Linked DNA regions of Homo sapiens: regions 2 and 3 are each linked to region 1. The links are contacts of gene promoters, found by promoter capture Hi-C in human tissues and cell types (Jung and others, 2019). All regions are on one chromosome and are shown on one strand. The core of a region is centred on a gene start or on the middle of the fragment in contact, and the rest is flanking DNA. Distances in the headings are between cores, read along the strand shown.

The links. The method cuts DNA at HindIII sites, captures the fragments that hold promoters and counts their contacts. A contact is called where the count stands out against the background at its distance.
Region 2: a contact is called between a fragment that was not itself captured here and the fragment with the promoter of L3MBTL1 in region 1, in 2 of the 25 tissues and cell types used here (spleen and thymus).
Region 3: a contact is called between a fragment that was not itself captured here and the fragment with the promoter of L3MBTL1 in region 1, in 1 of the 25 tissues and cell types used here (neural progenitor cells).

Annotation. Positions count from the first base shown.
Region 1 is chr20:43,506,325-43,509,115 of GRCh38, forward strand. It overlaps L3MBTL1 (L3MBTL histone methyl-lysine binding protein 1), which reads left to right and starts at 1,373. Exons shown (of 22, transcript NM_001377303.1): 1 at 1,373-1,420. RefSeq lists a silencer at 1,254-1,583. The HindIII fragment of the contact is 9,495 bases long and covers 1-2,791 here.
Region 2 is chr20:43,889,090-43,891,880 of GRCh38, forward strand. No RefSeq gene overlaps it. Among named protein-coding and RNA genes, the nearest start is that of LINC01728, 4.2 kb to the right of the region's middle. The HindIII fragment of the contact is 4,952 bases long and covers 1-2,791 here.
Region 3 is chr20:43,770,696-43,773,486 of GRCh38, forward strand. The region is part of intron 1 of LOC101927200 (a long non-coding RNA gene); the gene reads left to right. Among named protein-coding and RNA genes, the nearest start is that of GTSF1L, 45 kb to the left of the region's middle. The HindIII fragment of the contact is 3,261 bases long and covers 1-2,791 here.

The DNA.
Region 1 (2,791 bases), core at 123-2,622:
CTGAGCGGATGGTTGTGTATGTATCAATGTGTAGAAAAAGGCATCCATCGTTATGGCAACCAGCATCCTTAACTGATGCAATCCTGTTCCCAATAATATGAGATGTGATTAAAAATTGACATTGCAGCAAGGAAGAACACATGCAATGCGTTGGCGTGGCAACCGGAATAGTTAAATTCTGCATAAATTTAAACCTGTCGATCACAGCAATTTGGAGAATTTGCCTACATTTCATTAGGAACCCTTTTCTCATCTGGCCTGGGAGGGAATCAGGAGCCTGGTGGTCTGACATGTGGCCATGACTTAAGGCCAAGTAAAATCAAGGGATTAAATTAAATCATTGGTGTGGGAGAGGGGCTGGATGGTGGACTGTACCAAAAGTTACCCTGTTTTCATCTGCATACCCTACATCATTTAGTCACTCAACAGATATTTATTAAGCACCCACTCTGTGCCCCGCTCTGGGCTAGGTACTAGGAATACAAAAACTAATATTTCCTACCCTCTTGGAGCTTGAAACCTCTTAGCCTCTGGAATTACTCAAATCTATGTGAAGTGCCAGCTGTGGTATGTGTAAGCGAGACAGGTATCTTGTGTTACCAGAACCAATAACAAGGAGATTTGATTAATTAGAGAGATCAGGTGGAGGCGAAGAGATCAGTCAAAGTGAAGCAGAGAGGGGCAGTGATTGCTACACCACCACAGGAACCCAAACTGAAAACGACCATACGCCATGAAGTGGGTGATAGTCTTTACCAATGTCGAAATGGAGGACCTGGGGGATACTGATGTTACCCAGCCCTTCGCAGTGGGGTCACCCAAAAGTAGACGCGGCTAATGCCGCTCTTTATGCCCGGCAGGGCCAGGACCAGAGTCCCCGCACGAGGGTTCCTCTCTCCGGTCGCACGTGCCCTTCACCCTTCCTGAGGCCGTTTTCTGACGCTCCTGAGCTCCCCTCCAGGGTGAGGGCAGGCGCGGTGGGAAGGCGTTGGACAGAGCAGACACTCGGCTGGGGTGCATGCCTGGGTGCAGCCTCGTCTTTTGTCACTAACCACTCAGCTCGGTAGCCCTCCAGGCTCTCTCTTCGAGCTCCGCGGTCCCTGCGCCCCCGCTGCGCTCTGCTAGCTGTGATGCAGGGGTTCGGGGGCAGGAAAAATCTCGACCCGCCACGCCCGTGCGGCAAACCTGTCCTAGGTTGAGGGGGCATGAGGCGCGCACAACCAGGGCCTCGAAGGCAGGCAAGAGGGCGCGGGCGCCACAGAAGCCTGGGCCTGCGCCTGGGCCGGGCAGATGTGCCCGGCGCTCGGGCCCCGCGCTCTGCGTCCTGCAGGGAGGCGGACCCGCCCCCCGAACGCGCAGGCGCGCGGCGCCCGGCTCGGACCGTAGCTAGGCGCTGGGCGGCCACCGGCTGGCCAGGCAGGTAAGCAACCAGCGGTGCGTGGGCTCAGACCTTGCGTCCCCTGGGCGCCGCGCCACCCCGCTCCGTCCAGGGCGGCGAGGGCTCAGGTCTGCGGCCCCGGCGTCTCGCTCCTTCCGAGCGCCTCCGGCGGGGGGCGCGGGCTGGGGAGGAGGTTCGGGAAAACGCCGGGGAAAGCGGTCTGGGCGGAGCGCGCAGGGGGCCAGGCGGGTGCGGGACTCCAGGCCCAGCCGACCCTGCGGCGTGGCTTCGGGCTGCGATCAGGAGGGGCGAGGAGGGTGGAGGCTGCGTGTTTGGAGATACGCAATCAATTAAGAGTTTTTTTATTAATGGAAAGGTGTGGAGGGCGGGGTTTTGGTTTTCTTGGGAAATGAATGAGTCATTTGGCAAACTTTCCTACCATTAATTTTGGATTTTTATAATGGAATATGGAATTTTTTTTGTTTCTCTCTCTTTTTTTTTTTTTGGCCATAAAGAGAAAGAATAAAAAGAATTCCGCCATTTTAGCGTTTTAAAAAGTAACCGTTCTGCGGAACTGTCGGATCAGTGACCGCCCCGCCCGCCTTTGCCTATACCAGTCCCGGGAGGCTGGTGGCGGGTCCCGATCCTGGAACCCTGCGCTCAGGGCCGCTTCCGTCCCCTCCCGAGTCCGGGAAGCAGCTGCGGCGAGGGGCGGGGCCGAGGCCCCAAGTTTGTAGCGCTCAGCCTTGCTGTGTGTTGTTTTCTGGGTAGCTGTCGAGGGCTCTACTCCCCACCCAACACCTATAGTAAGGACATTTATTGGTCGTTTTTGTATACAAGGCCTTGGAAGGCAAGGGATTGAGAAAACCTTGTCAGACATCAAGAGAAAATACCCATGGACACATTCAGCCAACAGATATTTATTGAGCATCTGCTATGTGCACGGCTCTGGGCTGGGGCTACAATGGTTGTTTTAGGTCGGGTCCCCCGAAACAGACTCCGATAGCAAGATTTGAGTGTAGGTTTATCGGAGTGCTCTTGCGAATATCACCAGTAGGGGAATGACGGGTTGGGCGGAAGAAGAAGCTGAACTGCTGATGTAGTCTCAACAGAGGCCTCAGCCTGACCTAATGGAAGCTCTGGAACTGAGATGGCCCTGCAGAGGTGTTCCAAAGTAAGGCAAGGGGGTGGGGTCTTTACACCTCATAGCAACTCGTCATTGGCTGGCGGCTTCTAGGAGAGCCTTCAAGTGAGGTAGCTCCCTAGGCTCAGAGCAGTTCCAAGAGAGGCTGACGGCAGAAGGCTGAAAACTTTCTTCAGTGTCCACCAGAAACCCAGACTCTTCTGAGTCCCCCCTCACTTCATGGCAGACTCCTTCTCAGTCCCTTTTGCTAGACCCTTTTCCTCTTCCCA
Region 2 (2,791 bases), core at 155-2,654, 380 kb after region 1:
CAGCGGCAACATGTGACAAAGAATATAGACTTTACAGAATAATTCCAAAGGACACTAAAAAAAATGGCAGCAGCAACAACAAATAATAATAACAAACTCTGGAGAGGGGGAGAATCTGATTTCCAGAGTTGCCATATTATATTATTTTAAAGGTCAACTTTTTTAACAAAAAATACAAGTTATGCAAAGAAATCAGAAAGGATGGCCCATAAACAGGAAAAAGGGGCAAAAACAAGAGAAACTACACTAAGGAACCCCAGATGTTGGATTTATTAGACAAAGGCTTTAAATTAGCTATTTAAAATATGCTTAAAGCATGAAGGAAATTATGTCTAAGGAACTAAAGAAAAGTTTAAAAATGTCTGATGAAATATAGAATATCGATAAAGAGATAGAAATTATTAAAACAAAAATTCTGGAGTTGAAAGTACAGTAGCTGAAATGAAACATTCACTTAGAGGAGCTCAACAGAACATTTTAACAGGCAGAAGAAAAAGAAGTCAGCAAACCTGATGATAGGTCAAATGATATTATCTGTCTGAGGAAGAGAAAGATAAAAAGAATGAAGAAAAATGAAGAGTCTCAAAGACCTATCAAGCATACTGAGATAGACCAAGAATACAAAAATATGCATAATGTGATTTCTAGAAGAGAAGATAGAGTGGCAGAAAGAATATTTGAGAAAAAAAAGGATGGCTAGGTTGGGTGTGGTGGCTCACGCCTGTAATCCCAGCACTTTGGGGAGGCCGAGGTGGGTGGATCATGAGTTCAGGAGATTGAGACCATCCTGGCTAACATGGTCAAATCCCGTCTCTACTAAAAATACAAAACAAAACAAAACAAAACAATTAGCCAGGCATGGTGGCGGGCGCCTGTAGTCCCAGCTACTTGGGAGGCTGAGGCAGGAGAATGGTGTGAACCTGGGAGGCGGAGCTTGCAGTGAGCCTAGATTGCACCACTGCACTCCAGCCTGCCTGGGTGACAGAGTGAGACTCCGTCTCAAAAGAAAAAAAAAAAAAGGGATGGCTAAAACTTCCCAAATTTGATGAGAAACATTAATCTACACATTCGAGAATCTCAACAAACTCCAGCTAGGATAAACTAAGAAAGATCCTTACCTAGACACATCATAATTTAACTGTTAAGAGGCAAAGACAAAGAGAATATCTTCAGAGTATCAAGAGAGAAGTGACTCACCATGTATAAGAGAGCCTTAATAAGATTGTCAGCTCACTTTTAATCAGAAACCATAGATGTCAGAAGACAGTGGGTTGGTATAGTCAGAGCCCTGAAAGACAAAAAACTGTCAACCAAGAATTCTATATCCAAAGAAAACTATCTTTTAAAAATGAAGGAGACATTAAGACATTCCCAGAAAGACAGAAATGGAGGCAGTTTGTCAGGTATTTCAGCCTGAAGCTTTTCTACAAGTAATACTAACGAAATGTTCAGTCCTTCAGGCTGAAATGATAGGACAATAGGAAGTAACTCAAATCGACATAAAGAAATAAAGGTAACTACATAGGTAAATACAAAGGCCAAAATACATACAAAAGGAAAAATAAATTTATTTTTTTCTTTGTAACCCTTTTTTTCTCTTATTTGTTTTAAAGGATAGCGATATGAAGCAAAAATTATGAATCTATGTTGATGGTCATACAGTGTGTAAAGATGTAATCTGTATGACAAAAATAGTACAAAAGTTGGAGAGGGAATGAAGTTATATTGGAGAATGGTTTATGTATACAATTGAAATGAAGGTAATAACTAGGTTGTTATAAATTAAGATGCTAATTATAATCTCCAGGGCAACCACTAAGAAAATAACTAAAATATATATAGTGAAAGAAATGACAAAGGAATACTAGAAAATATCTAGTACAAAAGAAGGTAATAATGGAGGACTAGAAGAAACAAAAAAAAGAAACATATAAAAACAAACATCAGAATGGCAGACATAAAGCCTACCTTATCAGCAATTATATGAAATTACTCTACATAATCAAAATATAAAACTTTTATGTTTTGTTGGACACCACTGAGAAAGTGCAAGACTACTCAGAATGAGAGAAAAGTTCAAATTATATATCTGATAAGGGACTTATATCTAGAATATATAAAGAACTCCTACAGTTCAACAATAACTAAACAAATAACCCAATTTAAACATTGTGCAAAGGATCTGAATATACATATCTCCAAAGAAGATGTACAAAGACAATAAGCACATAAAAAGATGCCAAACATCATTAGCCAGCAGGGAGAGAAATGCAAATTAAACCAACAATGGGCCGGGTGAGGTGGCTCATGCCTGTAATCCCAGCACTTTGGGAGGCTGAGGTGGGCAGATCATTAGGTCTGAAGATCGAGACCATCCTGGCTAACATGGTGAAACCCTGTCTGTACTAAAAATACAAAAAATTAGCCGGGCATGGTGGCGGGTGCTTGTAGTCCCAGCTACTTGGGAGGCTGAGGCAGGAGAATGGTGTGAACCCTGGAGGCGGAGCTTGCAGTGAGCCGAGATCGCGCCACTGCACTCCAGCCTGGGCAACAGAGCGAGACTCTATCTCAAAAAAAAAAAAAAAAAAGCCAACAATGAATACATTTTTTGTTTGTGTTCTTTTTAAGAGATGTGGTCTCACTATGGTGCCCAGACTGGAGTGCAGTAGCTACTCACAGGCACATTCATGGCATACTGTAGCCTCAAACTCCTGGGCTCAAGTGATGCTCCCACTTCATCCTCTCAAGTATCTGGGACTACAGACATGCACCACTGCACCCAGCTTAAAAC
Region 3 (2,791 bases), core at 128-2,627, 260 kb after region 1:
ACTTGGTGGCTTGACATCAGCCATGGTGGGAACGTTTACGCCATGGAAATTGGAGAACACTACAAATAAAGGCTTTTTTTGGGATTATTTGTTTGCTATTTTGAAAACTATTTTTCAGCCTACTGTTTCATCCATCCATCCCTGTATCATGCATCCCTTTCTCTGGATGTCCAGACATCCAACCACCAAACCATCATCCGTTGAACCATTCATTCATCTGACATGTATTAAGCACTTCTTGTGAGCCAGGCCCTATACAAGCTCCACTGGGAGGGCAGAATTGGCCGGAGCCTGCTCCCTGCCCTTGAGGAATTGACACTTTAGTGGAACAGACACCTTACACACTCAAGGACTGTCCTGGACATCATCTCATTTGATGGTCATGGTCGGTATTGTTATCTCAGTGTAACAATTGAGGAGATTAAGGCTCAGAGAGGTGAAATGAATGGCCTGAGGTCACACAGCTGGCTGTCCATTCATTTGTTTACTCGTATGACAAGGTTTACAGAGGTGCTTAAATCCAGCCAGATGCCAAGGTGAAAACTGATTTTCAAACCTGTCCTTCAGAAATAAACCTTCTTAAAAAAATAAAAAGAAAGAAAATAAAAGAATAGGGAAAGTTATTTTTCCATCTTGCTTAGATGGGGACAGTTTTGAATTTATTTTTTTCAGATTGAACAATCGTTCCTCAAATGGATAGTGATAGGTGATCTAAAAAATAATCTTTAAAAACGTCGCCGAGTTGGGCATTTCCTCTGGGTGACATAACTCAGTGTGACAGAATGCATTTAAATTCACAGAAAAGAAATGGCAAGGAGTGCAATGTGGAAGGTGTTTGTGTGGCTGCCAGCTCCTTAACCCTCTCCTTTCACCATTCTTCCCCCTTTCCTCCACTGCCCCTGGGCCTGTGGGCACATTCGCTTCCCTCACTGCCTCCAGCCATATGTCTACACATACACATACGCATACGCATACACACACGCATACACATACACATACGCATACACATATGCATACACATAGCAGGGATCAAAAGCACTTCTGAAGATCCTGGGTCCCAGAATGTGGGCAGCTGATAGGCTGGGGGAAGAGGGTGTGGGTTTCCTAATGGGCCAAAGAAAGAGGTGCCAGGAATGCGTGGAAGATGATGTCTCTCTTTTCTCCAGATTCCTGTCTGTTCCCATTGTATTTCCATTCCTGCACATGGCCACCATGGTAACAAGGGAAGGGCTTTGCTTTGGGAAGGCCAGGGCCAGGCCAGGTGAGGCTCACGGACAAAGCATCTGCTGGTAACTTAGATTCAGCGTGCGAGGAAACCATGCTACAATTCCTCCCTGGCTTGGTGGGTGGCCTCCCTGTAAGAGACAGAACCCCAGGGCCATGCTAGGGTTGCAGCTGAGAGTGTGGATGGCAGCATGGTGCTCAAGGTGCTAGAGTTTCTTCTTTGTGATATTTTAGTTGTACTTCCCAAGGTATGTTCCATTATTTGCACACTGGTTTCTAGTTTCTGGCATTCTGCATCTGCCATTATGGCTGGGAAGAAAGAAGAGAGTAGAGAACTCCTTAGGGAGGAGAAAGAGGATCTGATGGAGAGGATGTCTTAAGTCAGCTTTCCTAGATGGAGATTCTTGCAGAATTTTTGCAGAGAGTAAATTATTGCAGATGGGGAGTGAAGGGAGCTGGACATGGTAGGGGAAGGACCTGAAGCTGGAGATCAGCTTTAACCTGATCCACAGGAAGCTCTGGAGTGTGAATTGTACCACAGATTGGCCCCTACTTGAGGCCAGGGGACTGGCATTTGTACTTCCACGTCAGTCACTAGCTACTGGTTGCCACTGGTGGGGATGGGAGTGAGAAGAGAGTAGCTTCCAAGAGGGGGCAGATCTGCCAAAGTCAAGTCTCTGGGAAAGGGAACAGGGTGAGCCTTCAGGACTCACAAGACCCAGGGGCTGGGGTACTAGTCTGATAAAAGGGGTGTTATGGTTTGAATGTGCCCCCTAAATTTCATGTTGCGGAAACCAAATTCCCAAATCCATATGTTGATTGGAGGTGGGGCCTTTGAGAGATAATTAAGATGAGATAAGGTCATCAGGCTGGGGCACCCATAATGGAACTGGTGGCTTTACGGGAAGAGGAAACCTGAGCTGGCACACTCCCTGGCTCTCATCATGTGATGCTTTCACCACATTATGACACAGCAAGAAGGGCCCCACCAGATGCAGCCCCTCAGCCTTGGATTTCCCAGCCTTCAGAACTGTAAGAAATACATGTTTTTTCTTAATAAATTACCCAGTCCCAGATATTAAGTTATAGCAACAGAAAGTGGAACAAGACAGGGTGTATGGGTTGGGAAGCAACAGCTACTACAAGGAGAACCTCAATAAGACAGGATAAAGGGAGAGGAGGGACTGTTTCCTTCCCTGCCCTGGGGGACTGTGGGAGGAATTCAGCAGCAAGGAGGAGGCACTCTTCACTCACTGCAAAAGTTCACAGAAAGCCCTCTTTTAATAACTGGGTGCCATCAGCAGGTAGGGGAAGAAACTTGAAAGACACATTCATGAAAGAGAGACCGAGGTGAGAGATGGTTTAAATACTTGCTGCTTTGAGTAAGGCTCCAGGACCAGCATCACCATCATCACCTGGAGCTTGTCCAAAATGCAGGCTCTCAGGTCCCACCTGAGGCTACTGAATCCAATCCGAAATTTTAACAAGATTCCCAAGTGATTTGTGTATACACTTAAAGTGTGAGATGTTCTCCTTAGAAAAAAGGTATTACACCAGGAAATGTGCC